Linked DNA regions of Homo sapiens: regions 1, 2 and 3 are each linked to region 4. Evidence: promoter capture Hi-C in 16 types of primary human blood cells and fetal thymus (Javierre and others, 2016). All regions are on one chromosome and are shown on one strand. Each heading gives the region's core, a stretch centred on a gene start or on the middle of the fragment in contact. The rest is flanking DNA. Distances are from core to core; before and after follow the strand shown.

Evidence for each region. The method cuts DNA at HindIII sites, captures the fragments that hold promoters and counts their contacts. A CHiCAGO score of 5 or more calls a contact.
Region 1: a fragment that was not itself captured here is called in contact with the fragment with the promoter of PIGV in region 4 in 2 of 17 cell types (neutrophils and total CD8 T cells); the score reaches 6.3 in neutrophils.
Region 2: a contact is called between a fragment that was not itself captured here and the fragment with the promoter of PIGV in region 4, in 12 of 17 cell types (neutrophils, erythroblasts, M1 macrophages and 9 more). The highest score is 8.2, in neutrophils.
Region 3: a fragment that was not itself captured here is called in contact with the fragment with the promoter of PIGV in region 4 in 17 of 17 cell types (megakaryocytes, activated CD4 T cells, naive CD8 T cells and 14 more); the score reaches 167.7 in megakaryocytes.

The regions. Positions count from the first base shown.
Region 1 is chr1:26,634,598-26,639,534 of GRCh38, forward strand. No RefSeq gene overlaps it. Among named protein-coding and RNA genes, the nearest start is that of ARID1A, 59 kb to the right of the region's middle. The HindIII fragment of the contact is 3,775 bases long and covers 1,001-4,775 here.
Region 2 is chr1:26,555,414-26,560,130 of GRCh38, forward strand. RPS6KA1 (ribosomal protein S6 kinase A1) reads left to right here. Exons shown (of 22, transcript NM_002953.4): 11 at 124-212; 12 at 1,241-1,305; 13 at 1,585-1,687; 14 at 3,394-3,524. Among named protein-coding and RNA genes, the nearest start is that of MIR1976, 3.2 kb to the left of the region's middle. The HindIII fragment of the contact is 3,642 bases long and covers 695-4,336 here.
Region 3 is chr1:26,600,935-26,605,722 of GRCh38, forward strand. LOC124904769 (U7 small nuclear RNA) reads right to left here and starts at 1,498; the gene lies at 1,435-1,498. The HindIII fragment of the contact is 1,382 bases long and covers 1,552-2,933 here.
Region 4 is chr1:26,784,555-26,789,427 of GRCh38, forward strand. It overlaps PIGV (phosphatidylinositol glycan anchor biosynthesis class V), which reads left to right and starts at 3,396. Exons shown (of 4, transcript NM_017837.4): 1 at 3,396-3,714. RefSeq lists enhancers at 2,166-2,315, 2,836-3,275, 3,322-4,148, 3,836-4,035, 4,843-4,873 and a silencer at 3,326-3,535. The HindIII fragment of the contact is 3,281 bases long and covers 1,408-4,688 here.

The sequences.
Region 1 (4,937 bases), core at 1,638-4,137, 150 kb before region 4:
AGTTTTTTTTTGTTTTTTGTTTTTTGTATTTTTTGAGACAGAGTCTCACTCTGTCGCCCAGGCTGGAGTCCAGTGGCACAATCTCAGCTTACTGCAATCTCTGCCTCCTGGGTTCAAGCGATTCTCCTGCCTCAGTCTCCCAAGTAGCTGGGATTACAGGCGCCTGTCACTACGCCCAGCTAATTTTTTGTATTTTTAGTAGAGGCGAGGTTTCACCATGTTGGCTAGGCTTGTCTCGAACTCTTAACCTTGTGATTCGCCCGCCTCAGCCTCCCAAAGTGCTGGTATTACAGGTGTGAGCCACTGCGCCCAGCCGAAAAATTATTATTATTATTATTATTATTATTATTATTATTTTGAGACAGAGTCTCACTCTTTCGCCCAGGCCAGACTGCAGTGGCGCTATCTCGGCTCACTGCAGACTCTGCCTCCCTGGTTCATGCCATTCTCCTGCCTCAGCCTCCCGAGTAGCTGGGACTACAGGCCCCTGCCACCGTGCCCGGCTAATTTTTTGTATTTGTAGTAGAGACGGGGTTTCACCGTGTTACCCAGGATGGTCTCGATCTCCTGACCTTGTGATCCGCCCGCCTTGGCCTCCCAAAGTGCTGGGATTACAGGCGTGAGCCACCGCGCCCGGCCCAAAAAATTATGTTTTAAGAAATATGCTACACCTGTTATTAGAGTCTAGTCTCATCAGTTGTTTTTGAGGGTTTTTTTTCTGCAATTTATACCAACCCTGGTTATTCCTGCCAATCAACCAGTGATCTCTGACTGCAGCTCAGAAGAAACAAGAGGGATGGATAGTGTAAAAATCTGGATCAGTATTCTAATTCTGGGCACGTACTGGAATCAGCTAGTGATTCCATATTAGCTTGATTCCAGCAATTGCTCAGTTAATGGAAAGCCTTCTTATTTAGTTTACTTGGGATAATTTTTCTTATTTTGCTTTACTGTTGTGGAATATATTGCTGTTGTACCCTTTGTGTAGGAATGCAGGATAAGCTTACTCAATGTTTTCTTTTTTCTTTTTTTCCTCCAACCTCTCCTCCCCCTCAATGTTTTCTTAAATTTAATCCTTGTTAATCTTCCAGATATCCCCTTTTGTCGAAATTCATAGTTATGAATGGTCCTTACTATACTGATGCTTCCTGACTGAGCTCCTCTCTACCCTGAATACAAGAGACCCTAGTAGTTAGGCAGGAATATCATTGTCCCTGTTTAGCCTGAAGAAGTTACGGAAGATGGATTTTTGTCCCTCTAAAACCCTTAGGATTAAGAGTCCCCTTGTAAAAGGGAGGGGAGAAATATGTCAGAGGCATTTGAACCAGAGTGACTTTATCTTGAATAGGGGCTGGGTAAAATAAGGCTGAGACCTACTAGGCTGCATTCCCAGGAGGCTAGGCATTCTTAGTCATAGGATGAGATAGGAGGTCGGCACAAGATACAGGTCACAAAGAGCTTGCTGATAAAATAAGATGTAAAGAGACCAGCCAAGCCCCACAAAAACCAAGATGGTGGCCAGGCGTAGTGGCTCATGCCTGTAATCCTAGCACTTTGGGAGGCTGAAGCAGGTGGACTGCTTGAGCCCAGGAGTTTGAGACCAGCCTGGGCAACATAGCAAAACCCCATCTCTACAAGAAGTTTATATATATATTATATATATTATATATATATAAAACATATAATATATATAACATATATAATATATTATATATAAAATATAAAATATATAAAAATATATATAATATATAAAAATATATATAAAATATATAATATATATAATATTATATATTATATATATTAGCCAAGTGTAGTGGCAACCGCCTACAATTCCAGCTACTCAAAAGGCTGAGGTGAGAGGATCACCTGAGGTTGAGGCTGCAGTGAACTGTGTTTGTGCCACTGCACTCCAGCCTGGGCAACAGAGTGAGACACTGTCTCAAACAAAAATCCCCCAGAAACCAAGATGGCAATGAAAGTGACTTCTGGTTGTTCTCACTGCTCATTATATGCTAATCATAATGCATTAGCATGCTAAAAGACATTCCCACCAGTGCATGACAGTTTATAAATGACATGGCAACATTCGGAAGTTACCCTATATGGTCTAAAAAGGGGAGGGGCCCTCAGTTCCTGGGAAATCTCTACCCCTTTCCTGAAAAACTCATGAATAATCCACCCCTTGTTTAGCACATAATCAAGAAATAACCATAAGTATACTCAGTCGAGCAGTCCATGCTGCTTCTCTGCCGATGTAGTAGCCATTCTTTTACTCCTTTACTTTCTTTCTTTCTTTTTTTTTTTAAGACGGAGTCTCCTTGTCTCCCAGGCTAGAATGCAGTGACGATCTCGGCTCACTGCAAGCTCCGCCTCCTGGGTTCACGCCATTCTCCTGCCTCAGCCTTCCGAGTAGCTGGAACTACAGGCACCCGCCACCATGCCCAGCTAATTTTTTCTATTTTTAGTAGAGACGAGGTTTCACCATGTTAGCCAGGATGGTGGCGATCTCGTGATCCTCCCGCCTCGGCTTCCCAAAGTGCTGGGATTACAGGCGTGAGCCACCGCGCCCGGCCTCCTTTACTTTCTTATTAAACCTACTTTCACTTCACTCTATGGACTCACCTCAAATTCTTTCTTTCGAGAGTTCCAAAAACCCTCTCTTGGGGTCTGGATCGGGACCCCTTTCCGGTAACAGTTTGGATAAGTACTGATTGATAGATGTAAGAAGTCAAGGGAGGTTTTACTTCTTTCATTTTATTTTATTATTATTATTATTATTATTATTATTATTATTTTGAGACGAAGTCTCACTCTGTTGCGCAGGCTGGAATGCAATGGTGTGATCTTGGCTCGCTGCAACCTTCGCCTCCGGGGTTCAAGCAATTCTCCTGCCTCAGCCTCCCGAGTAGCTGGGATTACAGGCATGCGCCACCATGCCCAGCTAATTTTTGTATTTTTAGTAGAGATGGGGTCTCACCACGTTGGCCAGGCCGGTCTTGATCTCCCTACTTCAGGTGATCTGCCCACCTCAGCCTTCCAAAGTGCTGGGATGACAGGCATGAGCCACCACACCCGGCCTATCATTGTTACTATTATTATTATTTTGGGGTTGGGGGAGGCTTTACTTCTAAAGAGAAAGGTCAATGTTTTTGATTTTCCTCCTTCTGCCATGTGGCTTTTCTAGAAATAGTCTTTGAGTTTCTTTTATTAGTTAATCTTTTTCTTCCTCCTATAACCCCTTTTTTTTTTTTTTTTTTTTGAGACGGAGTCTCGCTCTGTTGCCCAGGCTGGAGTGCAGTGGTGCAATCTCAGCTCACCGCAACCTCCACCTCCCAGGTTCAAGTGATTCTCCTGCCTCAGCCTTTCAAGTACCTGGGATTACAGGCGCCTGCCACCACGCCTGGCTAATTTTTTTGTATTTTTAGTAGAGACGAGGTTTCACTCTGTTAGCCAGGATGGTCTTGATCTCCTGACCTCGTGGTCCGCCCACCTCGGCCTCCCAAAGTGCTGGGATTACAAGCGTGAGCCAGATGGCACCGGGCCTGTTTAGCTTATTGTACTTAGTGAATACTTTTTTTTTTTTTTGAGATGGAGTCTCGCTCTGTCGCTCAGGCTGGAGTGCAGTGGTACGATCTTGGCTCACTGCAACCTCTGCCTCCCAGGTTCAAGTGATTCTCCTGCTTCAGCCTCCTGAGTAGCTGGGATTACAGGTGCACACCATTATGCCTGGCTAATTTTCGTATTTTTAGTAGAGGCGGGGTTTTACCATGTTGGTCAGGTTGGTCTTGAACTCGTGATATCGCGATCCGCCCACCTCGGCCTCCCAAAGTGCTGGGATTACAAGCGTGAGCCACCATGCCTGGCCTATACTTAGTAAATACTTTCTAAGTGGCAAGTTGCAATTCAAATGTCACTTTTTACATGAATCTTTTTTTTTTTTTTTTTTTTTTTGAGACGGAGTCTTGCTCTGTCGCCCAGGCTGGAGTGCCGTCGTGGCGCCATCTCAGCTCACTGAAACCTTGGCCTCCCAGGTTCACGTGATTCTCCTGCTTCAGCCTCTTGAGTAGCTGGGATTATAGGCACCCACCACCGTGCTCAGCTAGTTTTTTTTTTTTTTTTTTTTTTTTTTTTTTTAGTAGAGACAGAGTTTCACCATGTTGGCCAGGCTGACCTCAAGTGACTTGCCTACCTCGGCCTCCCAAAGTGCTAGGATTATAGGCATGAGCCACCGTGCCCGGAATGAATCCTTTCATGACTCCCAGAGGCAGAATTCAACGTATCTACCACTGAATTCACATAGCTCAGAGTTACATTACAAAGTGCTATAAAAATAATGGTTTCTGATCAGGCATGATGGCTCACACCTGAAATCCCAGCACTCTGGGAGGCCAAGGTGGGAGAATCTCCTGAGCCCAGGAGTTTGAGACCAGCTTGGGCAATCTTGTCTCTACAAAAGAAAAAAAAATTTAATTAAAAAATTAGCTGAGCTTAGTGGCGTGCACCTGCTGGGGTGCCTACTGGGGTGCCTACTCCCCACCTACTGGGGAGGCTGAGGTGGGAGGATTGCTTGAGCCCGGGAGGTTGAGGCTGCAGTGAGCCAAGATCATGCTACTATACTCTAGCCTGTGTGACAGAGTGACATTCTGTCTCAAAGAAAAAAAAATAAGTTTCTTTAATAATGTGGTGTAATATTTTGATTGCAAGCAACAGAAAAATCATCTCCAACTATCTTAAACAATTAAGAGAATTTAGTCATCAGCTGAAAATTCAGGCAAAGCTTTGTCCTCAGTGTTAAGGCTCGATGATGTTACCAAAGACCTGGTTTCTTTCCATTTCTCCTTCTGAAATATTTGATATTCCTGTGTGTGTGTGTGTGTGTGTGTGTGTGTGTGTGTGTGTGTTTTGGAGACAGAGTCTCGCTCTGTCGCCCAGGCTGG
Region 2 (4,717 bases), core at 1,266-3,765, 230 kb before region 4:
TGGGAAGTGAATTAGTGGATGGCTTGTCTAGACTGAGCTGGGAACTAGATCTGGACAGGGGCCGGGGGAGATGGGGCCTCTGGGGCAGGGCTCAGCCTTGATGAGTCCCGGGGGCTGTTTCAGGGCGAAGCTAGGCATGCCCCAGTTTCTGAGCACTGAAGCCCAGAGCCTCTTGCGGGCCCTGTTCAAGCGGAATCCTGCCAACCGGCTCGGTAAGCAGCCCCAGCTCAGGGGAGGGGATGTGGCGATGGGGAGCCGGGTACAGCTGCAGCCTAGGCCACAGGGCCACATCTGGGCTGAAAGGGGCCGTTGTCCTTTGTGTGGGCAGACAATGCCGCGGGCCACCCTGCTTTCTGGCTCCATGTGTGGTGTTGTGGAGGGGGGAGTTGACCTGTGTGTAGGGGGAAGGCAGGAACTGAGTCATCCCTACTCCCTCTGGGGACAAGGACAGAGGCCCCCACACAGCTTCTCCGCCAAGGCTGCTGGCACAAGAGAAATAGCATGAGCTCAGGAGTCAGAAGGCATAGGTCCCAATCCCGGCTCTGTGTCAGGTCCCCACTGCCTGGCACAAAACAGTCCCTCTATAAATATTTGTTAAACGAATGAGGCCACTTATGAACTAAGTGACCCCAGGCAGGTGACTTCACCTCTCTGCACCGCAGGTTCCTCGTCTCAATGGGAGATGATGATCCCAAGCTTGCTTCAGGGCTCTGTTGATGAAATGAGGTTGTGTGAACATGCCGGCATGTAGTAGGTGTCCAGTGTGTGCTGGCTTCCCTGGCTCCTGGGTTCATCTGGTCCATGACCAGCTGTGTAAGGTCCAGTCAAGGCCCCTGGGGTCGAATGGAGTAACAGCCTGTCCTATGGTTGAAAAGGTCAATGGGATAAGAGGAACAGAGATGAGGCTTGCCTTGGAATGAGGTGGGGCTCTCTGTAGGTCTCAGAACAAGCTCAGCTTCTGTTCTAACTGTGTGGCCTTGGAGAAGTTGCCTAAAGTCTCTGGGCCTTCCTCCTCCCACTGGTACATTGGAATTTCTTCATCAGAAGCTCCAGAAAGTGGAAAATGCTGAGTAGGTGACAGGCCTTAGGGTGATGGCTGGGTAGATTTGAGGCTGAGTGAGCCCATTTTCCCCTCTGCTCCAGCAGCTGGTCCCAGAGCCCTGTGAGGCTGCTTGGTGGGCAGGGTAATATCTGGGACTTGTGCCAGCCAGGGACAGACCCTTCATTTGGGCTCTTTCAGGCTCCGGCCCTGATGGGGCAGAGGAAATCAAGCGGCATGTCTTCTACTCCACCATTGACTGGAATGTGAGTGTGTCCACCCACACCAGGGCTCTGGCCAGGGCTCAGCCATCTTGGCCACAGGAAGGGTGGTGGGAGGGGAGCCTCTGCCAGCGAGGGCCCCAGACGCAGGAGCAGAGGGTCACAGCCTGCCCTTGAAGACAAGGGCTGGCCTCCTGAGGGCAAGCAATTCCGAGAGCTGGGCAATATGGCCTATGTTCCAAGCCCAGCACCTCCTCCTGCATGGGGCTCCTGGTGGGCTGTTGAGGATGCCATGGTGACCAGAGTGCCCACCCCACTGTGCAGAAGCTATACCGTCGTGAGATCAAGCCACCCTTCAAGCCAGCAGTGGCTCAGCCTGATGACACCTTCTACTTTGACACCGAGTTCACGTCCCGCACACCCAAGGGTGCGTCCCTTATCTGTTTTGTCTGTCTTGGGCTGGTACAGGAGGGAAGCCGGGAGTCGGTGGCAGCTTGGGGGGCAGAGATAGTCAGGGACACTGACAGGCCGAGGTATGCGGGTGGGCAGGCGGGTGAGTTTCTGGCTCCGTGGGACTGACTTTGTCCCTGTCTCACTCCGCCCGACTCTCTCACTATGGGGCTCTGTGGGTCTCTTTGTGTCTGGTGAGAGAGTGGGAGTGGGGATGTGTGGGTGGTGAAGGCCACAGTAGAAAAGCCAGGACCCCTGCCCGGGGCACCTTCCAGCCCACTGGGAAGACCAAACACATCAGGCTTACCATCACGTCAGGGAGAAAGAATCTGACCCAGCCACACTGTGTGGTGGCTGAGCAGAGGTGACAGTGCCCATAGGTCAGGGACAGGCATGGGAATCAGCTTTGGCTGCCCTGACTGCCCGGCCTCCGTGTACTTATCTGGAACAAGGGCACAGCCACAAACCCACTCATTCCCTGGGGTTGCTACAAGAAGCCAGTGAGGGAGCTTCTGGGAAGGAACCTGGTGAATCCTAACTTTTTGGCCAGATATTGACAGTGGGTGTGGGGTGGAATGTTCTGGGAAACCTCCTATAAGGGCATGTTTTAGGAGAGGGTGTGCTTTTCTTCTCTCCTCTCCTCCCCTCCCCTCTCCTCCCCTCCCCTCCCCTCCCCTCCCCTCCCCTTCCCTCTCCTTCCCTTCCCTCTCCTCTCCTCTTTTCAAGATGGAGTCTCGCTCTGTTGCCCAGGCTGGAATGCAATGGCGTGATCTCAGCTTACTGCAACCTCCACCTCCTGGGTTCAAGAGATTCTCCTGCCTCAGCCTCCCGAGTAGCTGGGATTACAGGCATGTGTCAGCACGCCTGGCTAATTTTTGTATTTTTAGTAGAGACGGGGTTTCACCATGTTGGCCAGGCTGGTCTCGAACTCCTGACCTCAGGTGATCCACAAGGGGGTGCTTTTCTCACTGCACTTGCACGCCTCTGATGACAGAGACAGCACTTCTCCAAGCAGTCCGCTGGGCAACGTGACAAGTGCAGCTTCGTAGGAGTCAGGGGCCGGAGGAGCAGCATCAGGCAAGGCTTCTCAGAGGAGGGAGCGTGCGAGTTGAGTCTTGAAGGATAGGCAAGGAGTGGATTATCTAGTTAAAGGGAACAGTGTGTGCAAGGGCTCAGAGACCCCTCTAAGGATCTGAGAAGTCCAACATGGCTCAGCTGTGGTATGGAGAGAGAGGAGGTGAGGATCACAGGGCCCTCAATTGCCAGACTCAGGAGCTGGACTTACTCCTGAAGGCAGACGGGAACCTTTGAAAGGTGTGGGCAGGGTGGCAGATTTGTGGTTGGAACCTTCCCTCTGGCTGCTGTGCAGAGATGGACCTGAAGGGGCTGACGTAAGATGGGGAAGCTGGGGAGGAAGCATCCAGGAAGGGATGAACTGTCTTGGCCTGGGATGGAGGTGGATGTGAGAGTCTTTTTTGTTCCTCATGCGACAGGACTGGGCTGGTCTAATAAACACATATGAGCAGTTGGGCCAAGGCCTGTGATGGACAGGCCCTCTGCAGGCTCCCGCCACGGCCAGCCCCTGAGGCAGGTCTGGAGGCCCTGTGCTCCCCCTTTGCTGGGCTGCCTCAGGGTCGAGGGGACCTCCTCAGGTACCCTCACATTCTCCTTCCATCCGTACAGATTCCCCAGGCATCCCCCCCAGCGCTGGGGCCCATCAGCTGTTCCGGGGCTTCAGCTTCGTGGCCACCGGCCTGATGGAAGACGACGGCAAGCCTCGTGCCCCGCAGGCACCCCTGCACTCGGTGGTACAGGTGAGGGGGGCAGGGGGCTGCTGCTCCATTATCCTTTTCTAAAGAATGGCTGAGTACACAGGCTCTGAGTTGGACAGAACCAGGTTCATACCCTCATGCCACTGTGGGACCAGTAGGGCCTCCAACATAAAACAGGGACAGTAAGGCCCACCTCACACAGTGGCCCTGATAATTGGATGATGATATGGGTGTACATTTCCCAGCACAGAGCCAGGGTCTGGGTACATGTCAGGAGGTGCCCAGGGTGGTGGTGCCGAGTGACTGTCGTGTCTCCGGCATAAGTGTAGCGAAGGACTTGGATCTCATCACACTTGTTCCCCATTTGTACACTTCTACTGCTAATGAAAGTTTCAGGTTGAGAGGCAAGAATGTAGACTGTGGAGCTCATTGCATGGGTTCCAGATTCACAAGATAATGGACTTTGGGGTTTTTTGTTTGTTTGTTTTTGAGACGTAGTCTTGCTCTGTTGCCCAGGCTGGAGTGCAGTGGCACAATCTCAGCTCACTACAGCCTCCACCTCCCAGGTTCAAAAAATTCTCCTGCCTCAGTCTCCCGAATAGCTGGGACTACAGATATACACCACCACACCCAGCTAATTTTTTTTTTTTTTTTTTGTATTTTTAGTAGAGACGGGGTTTTACCATGTTGGCTAGGCTGGTGTCAAACTCCTGACCTCAAGTGATCCGCCCACCTCAGCCTCCCAAGGTGCTGAGATTACAGACATGAGCACCTGACCAGATAATGGACTTTGGATGAGATACTCCCTTCCTCGTGCCTCAGTTTCCTCATCTGTAAATGGGGGAAATGATAGAAGCTTCCTCCATAGAGCTGTTATGAGGATTATTAGAGTTAATACATGTAAAGTTCATGTGGGCTGGGCACGGTGGCTCATGCCTGTAATCCCAGCACTTTGGGAGGCCAAGAAGGGTGGATTGCTTGAGGCCAGGAATTTAAACAGACCCATCTGGCCAACATGGCGAAACCCCGTCTCTAAAAATACAAAAATCAGCTGGGCGTGTTGGCGCGTGCCTATAGTCCCAGCTACTTGGGAGGCAGAGGTTGCAGTGAGCTGAGAACGTACCACTGCACTCCAGCCTGGGCAACAGCGTAAGACTCTGTCTCAAAAAATAAATAAATAAAATAAAAAATAAAGTTAAGGTGACTATGTAATTTATTTTCCAAACTGGGACATC
Region 3 (4,788 bases), core at 993-3,492, 180 kb before region 4:
CCAGCTACTCAGGAGACTGAGACAGGAGAATCACTTGAACCTGGGGGGCAGAGGTTGCAGTGACCCGAGATCGTGCCACTGCACTGCAGCCTGGACTCTGTCTCAAACAAAACAAAACAAACAAACAAACAAAAAAGATTGGGGAAAACCTGTAGACAAAATAAAATATTAATAATAAATCAGGGCTGGGAGCAGTGGCTCACGCCTATAATCCTAGCACTTTGGGAGGCCAAGGCAGGCGGATCACCTGAGGTCAGGAGTTCAAGACCAGCCTGGCCAACATGGTGAAAACTCATCTCTACTAAAAATACAAAAATTAGCCGGGTATGGTGGTGCGTGCCTGTAATCCCAGCTACTCGGGAGGCTGAGGCAGGAGAATCGCTTGAACCCGGGAGGCAGAGGTTGCAGTGAGTCAAGATTGCATCATTGCACTCCAGCCTGGGCAACAGAGCAAGTCTCAAAAAAATAATAATAATAATTTAAAAATTAAAAAAAATCAGCCCAGGCACAGTGGTTCATACCTGTAATCCCAGCACTTTGGGAGACCGAGGCAGAAGGATCACTTGAGCCCCGGAGATCGAGACCAGCCTGGGCAACATAGGGAGACACTATCTCTACAAAAAATACAAAAATTAGCTGAGCATAGTGGTGTAGTCCCAGCTATTTGGGAGGCTGAGGTGGGAGGATCACTTGAGTCTGGGAGGTCAAGGCTGCAGTGAACCATGATCACACCACTGCACTCCAGCTTGGACAACAGAGTGGACTCTGTCTCAACAAAATTTTTTAAATAAAAACAAAAATTAGCTGGTTGGGGTGGCGCACATCTGTGGTCCCAGCTACTTGGGAGGTTGAGGTGGGAGGATCAATTGAGCCCAGGAGTTAGAGGCTGCAGTGAGCCATAATCATGCCACTGTACTCCAACTTGGGCAACAGAGCAAACCCTGTCTCAAAAAAATTAAATAAATAGAAAGTGAGGCCGGGCTTGGTGGCTCATGCCTATAATCCCAGCACTTTGGGAGGCCGAGGCGGGTGGATCACCCGAGGTCATGAGTTCAAGACCAGCCTGGCCAACATAGTGAAATCCCGTCTCTACTAAAACAATAGCTATTATTAATAAATAATAATAATACGAAAATGAGTCTGGCATGGTGGCACATGCCTGTAATCCCAGCTACTCTGGAGGCTGAGGCAGGAGAATCGCTGGAACCCAGGAGGTGGGGGTTGCAGTGAGCCAAGATCACGCCACTGCACTCCAGCCGGGGCAACAGAGCGACACTCCATCTCAAAAAAAAAAAAAAAAAAAGAAAAGAAAGAAAGAAAGAAAGTGAGATCCTTTAAAAAAATTTTTAAAGGAAGATTTTTGTTTTTCCCGTGGGAAGTTTTTCCAGAGAAGAGAACCATCTTCAGTGTTACAGCTCTTTTAGAACTTGTCTAAGAGACAAATTTCAGTGAACACTGGAAAACCTGATAGATAAATTCTAAAAGAGGTGTAACACTGAAAATTTTAACTATACCAATAACCGTAATCAACTGATGGACATCTGGGAGCAAAGCTTTCCAACATTTTGCCTCTTCTTTCTGGTTCTCTGCTGTTGTTTCTCTTTTGAACAGCAGATGGCAGGATAATCCCACAACAGGTGGTCATGATTTAATTTAATTGCAATGAGAAGAAAATTGCTTCTTTTCCCACATGTATTTCTTTCCCGAGATAAACAGTACATAGGGAATCTGCCTCTTTATTGGAAGTAAGATATGTAAGAAGGTAGCTTTTTATCAAGGAACAGCAAGGTAACTAACATAAATTCTGAGCCTTAGATTATTACACTGTGCAAAACCAAGTTTCTGAGAAAGGAGCAAATGGAGGTTGAAAGCCAACTGTTAAAATTCCACATATTCTAGGTTTCCTCAGTTAATAATCATAAAAAGTTTATAGCCAGAAAGTCACAGAGGCCCTTCTGTTGCAATTGTTAGGGTTTAGAGTCAGTGGGAACACCCTTCTCACCCAGGGGATTTTAAAAGCCAATCCCACCTCCTCCCCACAGTCCTCTCCTCTAACGCTCATTTCCCATCGCCTCACAAAATTGCCAGGGTAATTGACTCTTAGATGAGATGAGTTTGACTTTCTACCCTGATTTTGTAACAGAAGTTCTTTTGGTGAGGTTCTTTGTTTGAAAATGCACAATAAAAATGGCTTTAGAATGACTTCAGAGGACTCTTTCTTTTTCTGGTGCCAATAACAGATTCCAAAGCAGCTATTATTCGAGGTGGGTGATAGCATCCCTTGAGTCTGTTTAAGTATCGGTTTTCAAAGTGCCTAGGAACCTGAAATGTCCTGTATGGTATATTTGCAGGTGCATAATTGGCCAAGTGCTCCAGGGGTTATAAAGATTGCCTTCCTGTAGTTGGAATAGACAGATTTAGCCTCTTACTGAAACTGAAGGCTGCAATGTCGATAACAAATCTGATTCTAACTCTCCTGTGTCACTTCAGCCCAAAGGTGCCTTTGTCTCCCAGGAGAAAGAGGTTAGAGGTAAGTGAATGGCCCTTAACCAGAGCCATGTAGAAAACATTGCTAAGGAAGACTTCTGTCCTGAGAGTGGAGGTTTAGGGCTGTTGTGTGTGAAGTAAATTTGCTTTGTTCACAGCCAATCTGACTGAATGCAAGTATTGCTGAGGTGACTGGAGCTGAGCAGCAGCAAACTGCTTTAAAAGCAGCTTTCAGTGGGAAACTTTAAGCATACAATGACTTTATTTTTGTTAAACATAATTCTCCAACCTTGCTTTTTTATTGCACTAACCAAAATAAATCTGGATAAACTTAAAAGGCTGCCTTGATGTCAGTAGGAAAATGGATATTGTCTCTCCCAAAAGTGTTTGAATGGTAGTACATAATCCAGCTACATCCAGATAAGAATACACCTCCGCCTGTAGAAAGCTTTCCTGGAACGGAATATCACCAAGAGTATTCACTTTGGGGCTTGATGGTTCCAGCCCGTCTTACTAAAACTTCTAAAGAAATAGTTTGCCTGCTCTTTCACTCCTCCATTTGTAGTTAATACTTATGTGTACTTAGTGGTGTTCTGAACTCGTTTTATTTCTCAAGGCCTCTGGCATTTGATGATACCTGTGTAGCAGGAGCTTTCATCATACCAAACACAGGGTGGTGTTTAGTGGAGAAGGGGCCAGGAGAGGAAAAAAGCCTAGGCTTTTTCCTAAGTTACTTAACTTGGGAAACCAATGGGCTCCTTTTAAGATTAAATGTGTCTTTAAAATACCAGGATCTTCAGTTATGAAGATATGGGCAAAACTGCTTCCCCCAGACAAACCTGAGGTGGGGGATGTAGGTGTCACATTCAAATCAAAAAGGTGCCTCTCGACAGGAAAGATTTAATCAGCTCTCCTTCCCAGGATCGGCTGCCAGGTTTGAACATTTACTTGTCTGAGTTCCAGGCAGGAGACACTGCTAATTATGGGAGCAATTCCCATGGCTACAGAAAAGAACTGTCTGAGCTGGGGAGTCAAAGCTCTGATCAAGAGGGGACTGAGAGGAAAAAAGCCCCCAGCATTCTCAGAGGAAATTCTGGAGTTGACAAGATACATGCCTTCTCTGCAGGAATGCCCCCTATGTCTGGCATTTGAAGATCTAGAAACATCCTTCCCTTCACCTTCCTAACTTACGTGTTAAGAATCCCTTTGTTTGACAAATAGAATTTTCAAAGCAGTTTCTTTCGTTCAAACACTACGTGATTAAGTTTGTTTTGGAAAAAAACACAGAATGAGGACTTTACTAAGAGTGATTCTCACAAATGATGGTACCTGAAAAGAGGCAAACTTGGCCATCAGGGCAGCCAAAATGGCACAAGCATTTGGAACTTGTTGCCTTATCCTTGGCAAAAACACCACTGGATCCTTTCCGCTCTACGTAAAGTAAGCTGTGGCAAAGTTTACTTTTCTTGTGGCACAAAATCTAGACTCACAGTGAGCTTCTTCACCATTAGCTTCAATTTATATTCTGCCTCTCTTCTTTGTCCATTATTCAGGGCACCTGCTCTCTGTCCCTCCCCCACTCCTCCAGCTGTCTGTCTGTCTCATTTGTGTCAATTAGGAATTCAATACTGCTTGATTTAACTGAATGACTTTCCCTGTACAGAATCTCAACTACAGACAGGGCATCAACCATCACTCCCATTCCCCAGAATAAAAAATTCTGAAAAGCCAAAGGCATGCAAGGATACCTAAGAAAGGAGCAAGAGGTCCTTGCTAGCTATGGCAGTGAGCCTGAGAAAGATGGCAAGACCGCATTTCCTGACACCCAGTTATGTATTTGGTGGCCTACCAAGAGTCAGCATTGCATCCAAGATCATTTGAGTCTACTCTATTTAGTAAAGGTTTTCAAAGAGGATCATAAGACTTAGAAATCAAGAACCAACTGGAAGAAATAAACTTTTTATATCATTTCCTAGTTTACAACATGCTTTCCCATCCTCAGAAGAATGACTTTGTCTTTCTGTTAATTCAGTCATTGAAAACATCGGTCCTATTCTTTAGTCAACTGCCTCTATTCACCTACTATGTGCCAGGCAGTGTTATCAGAGCTGAAAACAGTGTTCTAAGAACAGAAAATAAAATAAAGTTCTTATTCTCATGCAACTTACATTCTAATGGGAAGGATCAAAATAATAAGTAAGTAGACCTATAGTGTATTAAATGATAATGAGGGTATTGAGAATCATAAAGCAGTGTTAAGGGAGATAGAAATTATGGTTTGAGCAGAGTCTTTTTTTTTTT
Region 4 (4,873 bases), core at 2,146-4,645:
ATGGATGTAAATGTCACCCAGCATCTTGGAAACTGCCAATGAATGCCTTTTATCCCACAGCAAAAAGAAGTAGCATAAAGTTCTGGTAAAGTACAGCAGGCCAGTATGGTCACTTTCGCCCCACAATGGCATGACATCAGAGCCAGCATCCCAGATTAGGATCAGCTATTCCAATCCCATAGGACTGGGGCCATGGAAAGTTTAGCTTCTAGAAACTGAACTGCTGAGAGTAGTTGGGCTACTTACTGGGCTGGTCCTCTGCCCAGCCTGGGGCCAAGGCCACTTCCAGAAGTGGAGGCAGGAGCAAGGCAAGGCAGCTACAGAGAGAAATGTCAGTTGCTCCAGGGAAGTGAGTGTTCTGTGAGAACCACCTAACTTCCTTCTCTACACTTTCAGTGGGAAAATCACTTTTTTGTTCAGTGAGTTGTAATAGCCCATCTTTATTGAGCATTGTATGCCAAGCACTATAAATCCTATGAGGTAGATATCATCTCCACCAGGGCAAGGATTGTTTCTATCTTGCTCAGTGTTGCATCTTCATCCCATCACATAGTAGGCATTCCTGTACTGTTGAACAAATCAAACAGATAAGATAGGAATTTGATGGAGGAAAGAGTAGGTCAGAGCTGTTAAGACTTGGTGTGCCCATCTTAGCATAGCCCGTAAAGACTCTTACATATGGGAAAAATGGAAGAGAGGGAAAGAGGTAAATCTGTGAAAGATTAAAATAGTGTAGAGTGGGAGAACCAGCCTGGGAGGCTGGAGACCTGAATTCAAGTCCCATCGCTACCACTAGCTATGTGACTTCTTGCCAGTCACTTACCCTTTGTGATCCTTAGCTCCCTCATCCATAAAATATAGGTATAGGATTAAAGAAATTGATTTATTGACCAGATCTTTATTGAAGACACACAGTGTGCAAGGCACTGTTCTAACTGGAAATACATTGGTGAACAAAGCCCTTGCTCCTCCATTACACTCAGAAGCTTACATTCTAGAATAGGGAAACAGACATTGAAACAAGTAAAATTCATGGACAGGACAAGCAGATAGTGTTAAGTGCTATGAAGAAAACAGAGGCCGGGCGCAGTGGCTCACACCTGTAATCCCAGCATTTTGGGAGGCCAAGGTGGGTGGATCCTTTGAGCCTAGGAGTTCCAGACTAGCCTTGGCAATATAGTGAGACCTCATCTTTAAAAAAAAAAAAAAAAAAAAAAAAAAACAGAACAGACTGATGGGATAGTACAGGGAAAGCCTCTCTAAGGAGGTGACTTCTCTCCGGAGACCCAAACATAATGGGCTAGCCAAAGGGTGGTCTGGAAGTAGAGTGCTTCAAGCAGGGAAAATAGCAAGAGCAGAGCCAGGCAAGTTCAAAGAACAGAAATGATGTAACCCTCTTAAATCCTAAGCTTCTAGAATAGTAATGCATTGCTTGCATTGTTCTGGTTAGGGATTTGTATGTGATATTGTTTCTTGGTGATGTGGGATATGTGCTTCTTAATGGAAATGGCTGGGAAGTGTGGAGTCTTTCTGGAGCCTGGGATATGGCTCTTTCTCACTTGCTTTCCACAGTTCTGGTAGCTCAGCTGGCTCCCTGGGTAGATGCAGGCTCCATCTTAGCTGCAGACTCTACAAGAACACTGAGAGGCTGCCTCCGTCACTACTCAAAGCCTTGGAGTCCCAGAATCCCCTCCTATCCCACCTAGCCTTCTTCCAATCTGAAACCAGGGAGTCAGGGCTTTGAGAGCACAAGATTCAGCTTCCTTGTTTTCCTGTCAGAGCAGAAGTCAGAAAATGAAACAGGAAACAGAGCGGAAGAGGAGGGGGTTGGGTAGCAGAGAAGGAAAAGAGAAATTGCAGGAAAGTACAGCTGAAAATCTGGATAAAGTTCTACCTCTACAGGGTGACAGCTGAGCTTTTAAAAAACATTCTGACTTGTCTTGAGAGACCCCTGGCCTTTTTACAAATAGATTTTTGAGAGAATTTGATGTGGACAGAGGGAACCCTGAGAATGCATGTCTTTTTTCCCCTTGTGAATTTACAGAGCAAGGACAGTTCATTTCTCAGTTTTGTCTTTGCAGAGAGAGTGCTGCTTGGAGCCTCATGGTGGACTTCTAGAGATTCAAGTCACAGCCTTAGGCCCCAGTCACAAGTGTGTCCCCAGGCTTTGCCACGTTACTCACAGGCCTCTGGAGCTGAGAACAAGTGCGTGGCACTGAAAAACCTGGGGGAAGGGCCATGAAACTCCATTTTTTCCCCCTTCTCCAACACACAACGACTAAATATGATTTGCCTTTTCTCCACCTTGCACACAACAGATATCTGAAGGCAATTTAGGTCTCAGGGCCTGAAATGAGTTACAGAGTCAAGAGATACAGTCCCAGGCCCCCACAGACTGATGTGGGCTGGTCTTCGCCTGGAGAGGTAGCAACCATCTCTTTGTTCCCACCCACATGAGTAGCCGTTGCAGAAGATAAACCCCTCCCTGAGCCAGGCTGTGGCCAGAGGCTAACCCGGCCCCTGGCTTCGTTTGGAGGGCAGATAACTGAAACCACATAAGGCTTTGGAATCCTGAGAAACAAGAAATCCACCAACGGAGAAGGATTTATCATCTGTTTCCTTTAAGGAGGGTGCAAAGTTGTTCTAACAGTTTCCGTTACAAGGGTACAAACTGGCCGCTCCCCCCAATAGACGGTTTTGTTGAGTTCGCCTCTTTTTTTTTCTTCTTTTTTTGGCCCCACTTCCTATGAGAGAAACTGCTTGGGTGAGGGAGGTGAAAGGAGCCCTGGAGGGTGTTCTCTGAGGTTTTCTTCACCATCCTCATTAGCCACCTGAGGTGGGGCTGAGGACTAAAGTAGGACAGAAGGTCTCTGGTAGATAGAGGAGGGGAAAATCAGGGGGATCCCCCACTTTCTTCACACCCAGGACGCAGGGTGCCGCTGCCGGCCACAGAAACCCCAAGAATGTTTTTCTTTGGCTATTCAGAGGACATCTATTGTGTGTCAGGCCCTGTGCTGAGCTGTTGTTGCCTGACAGCAGGAAGAGCGCGGCTCTGGTTTCTGTGAAGAGGCTGCGGGTCAGCCTCCGACTACAAGAGCCTCGGCCCACACCGGGAACTCAGTGAACGTCAGCGGGAGCTGGGGCAAGAGCACTGACTCTGAGACAGCAGCCTCCGCTCACTATTTGAAGGCGGGGTGGCGGGGGGCCTTGAAGGAGAGCGAAGTGCGAGAGAACTCTTCAGGTGTCACCAAGGTGGGAAGGTGCTACGAGGCGAGGCGCCGAGCGGCGACCCCCATCCCGCTCGCCCGGAGTCAACATGGCCGCCGCGCAGGGAGGCGGGGCTGCTCCAAGTCCGGGCAGGAGCGGGGCGGGGACGCCGTCGGCGGAGCCAGCGCGCAGGCGCGGGCCGCGTGGGCCCCGGATGGAGGAGCTGAGGTTCGGTCCCCGCCGGGGAGGTCGGGACGGGCAGGGGCTGAGGACCCCGCGCCAGCTTGGGAGCCCTGGAGTTCTGGCGGGAGGGAAGCTGTCAAATGGAAGCCGGTAGAAATGAGACAGACGCCCGGAGAAGCGGGGAGCCCCGCCCCTCCGCCATAGCAGCCTCGGGCGCCGCCTCTTCCTTTCCAGCCTCCCGCCCTCGTCTGCTTCCGGCCCTGTGGCCTGGTGGGGCTCTGCAGGCTCCCTCGGGAGTGGTCCTTGGGCCGTGGCCCCTCTGGGGTGAGCGTGGATGATTAGTACCCAGAAGGGACTGTGTCCAAAAGGAGCCGGCCAGAAACGGGTTGCGGACACGGCTGGGCTGACAGAAGGCAGCCCCCACGAGGCCTTTGGCTCTGAGGACCCTGGGTCAGAGCGACTTCTCCAGCCTGCGCAGGGGGTGTTAGTCTTACCCAGAGGGTCCAGAGCTGCCGTTCAACAGGATGTCCCAGATTCTCAGATAGGGCCCAACTACCCTAAGCATACCTAGCAAGGGCAGGCTGCGGCATGGAAGTACTGGGCTAGGCGTTTGGGTGACCTGGGTCATAATCCTGGCTCGGAAAGGGCGCGTACCCTTTGGCGAGGGATGCGGGCTGGTACCGTGAGGTTTAAGAAGCAGAAAACATGACAGCCTCTTTAAGTAGCCCTGGGTACGTCACTTGACCCCAGTGAGCCTCAGTTTCCATATCCATAAAATGGCGATGGTAATTATACTAGCCTCACAGTGTCTGATGAGATCTCTGGAGCCTATTTATCTCACGGGAAAATTTTTGAAGAGTGAAACTAGTTGATCTGTAAGTGTCCTGCCAGTTAAGAGTCTGTGATTTGGCAAAGGGGTTGTTGGGAAGTGAGGTGGGCAATTAGCTGAGAGGGAGAATTGACTAGCTTTGTTTTTACTTGGTTTACCTGTAAGCAAAGTGTGGGCTACACACATCTGTAGTCGCTGAGGCTAGAGCTTGACTCGAGAGAGGAAAGGAAGAATGCAAGCATGGTCAAGTGGCAGAGGTGGGTTAGGTGCTTTTCTGATCCCAGCTTCTCTTCTGCATGCGCGTGGGAAGCCAAGGAAGAGGAAAAAAGAGTGAATTCGCCCTAGGATAGGGAAGGAGTAGCCGCGTGAGGTTGAGTATGCCCATTTCCGTGATTTCTCTCGATTCAGCGAGTCATACGTTGGAAACGTTTAGATTCACAAACTATCGTTACTGTCTGGGGCTTTCAGAAGCTTGCCTTTGAACCGAATTTTCGTGAGCCAACCGGTGTGGAATTGGGGGCCCCTCCCTTCCTCCAGGCCTCCTGGCGATGGAGTAAGCAGCAGGCGCCCCCTTGTGCCAAGGAAAGAGTACTGTTGCCATTGGCCAACTTGGCTCCCTTTCTGGGGAAATTTTATTTTCCTGTGGCTTCTGTG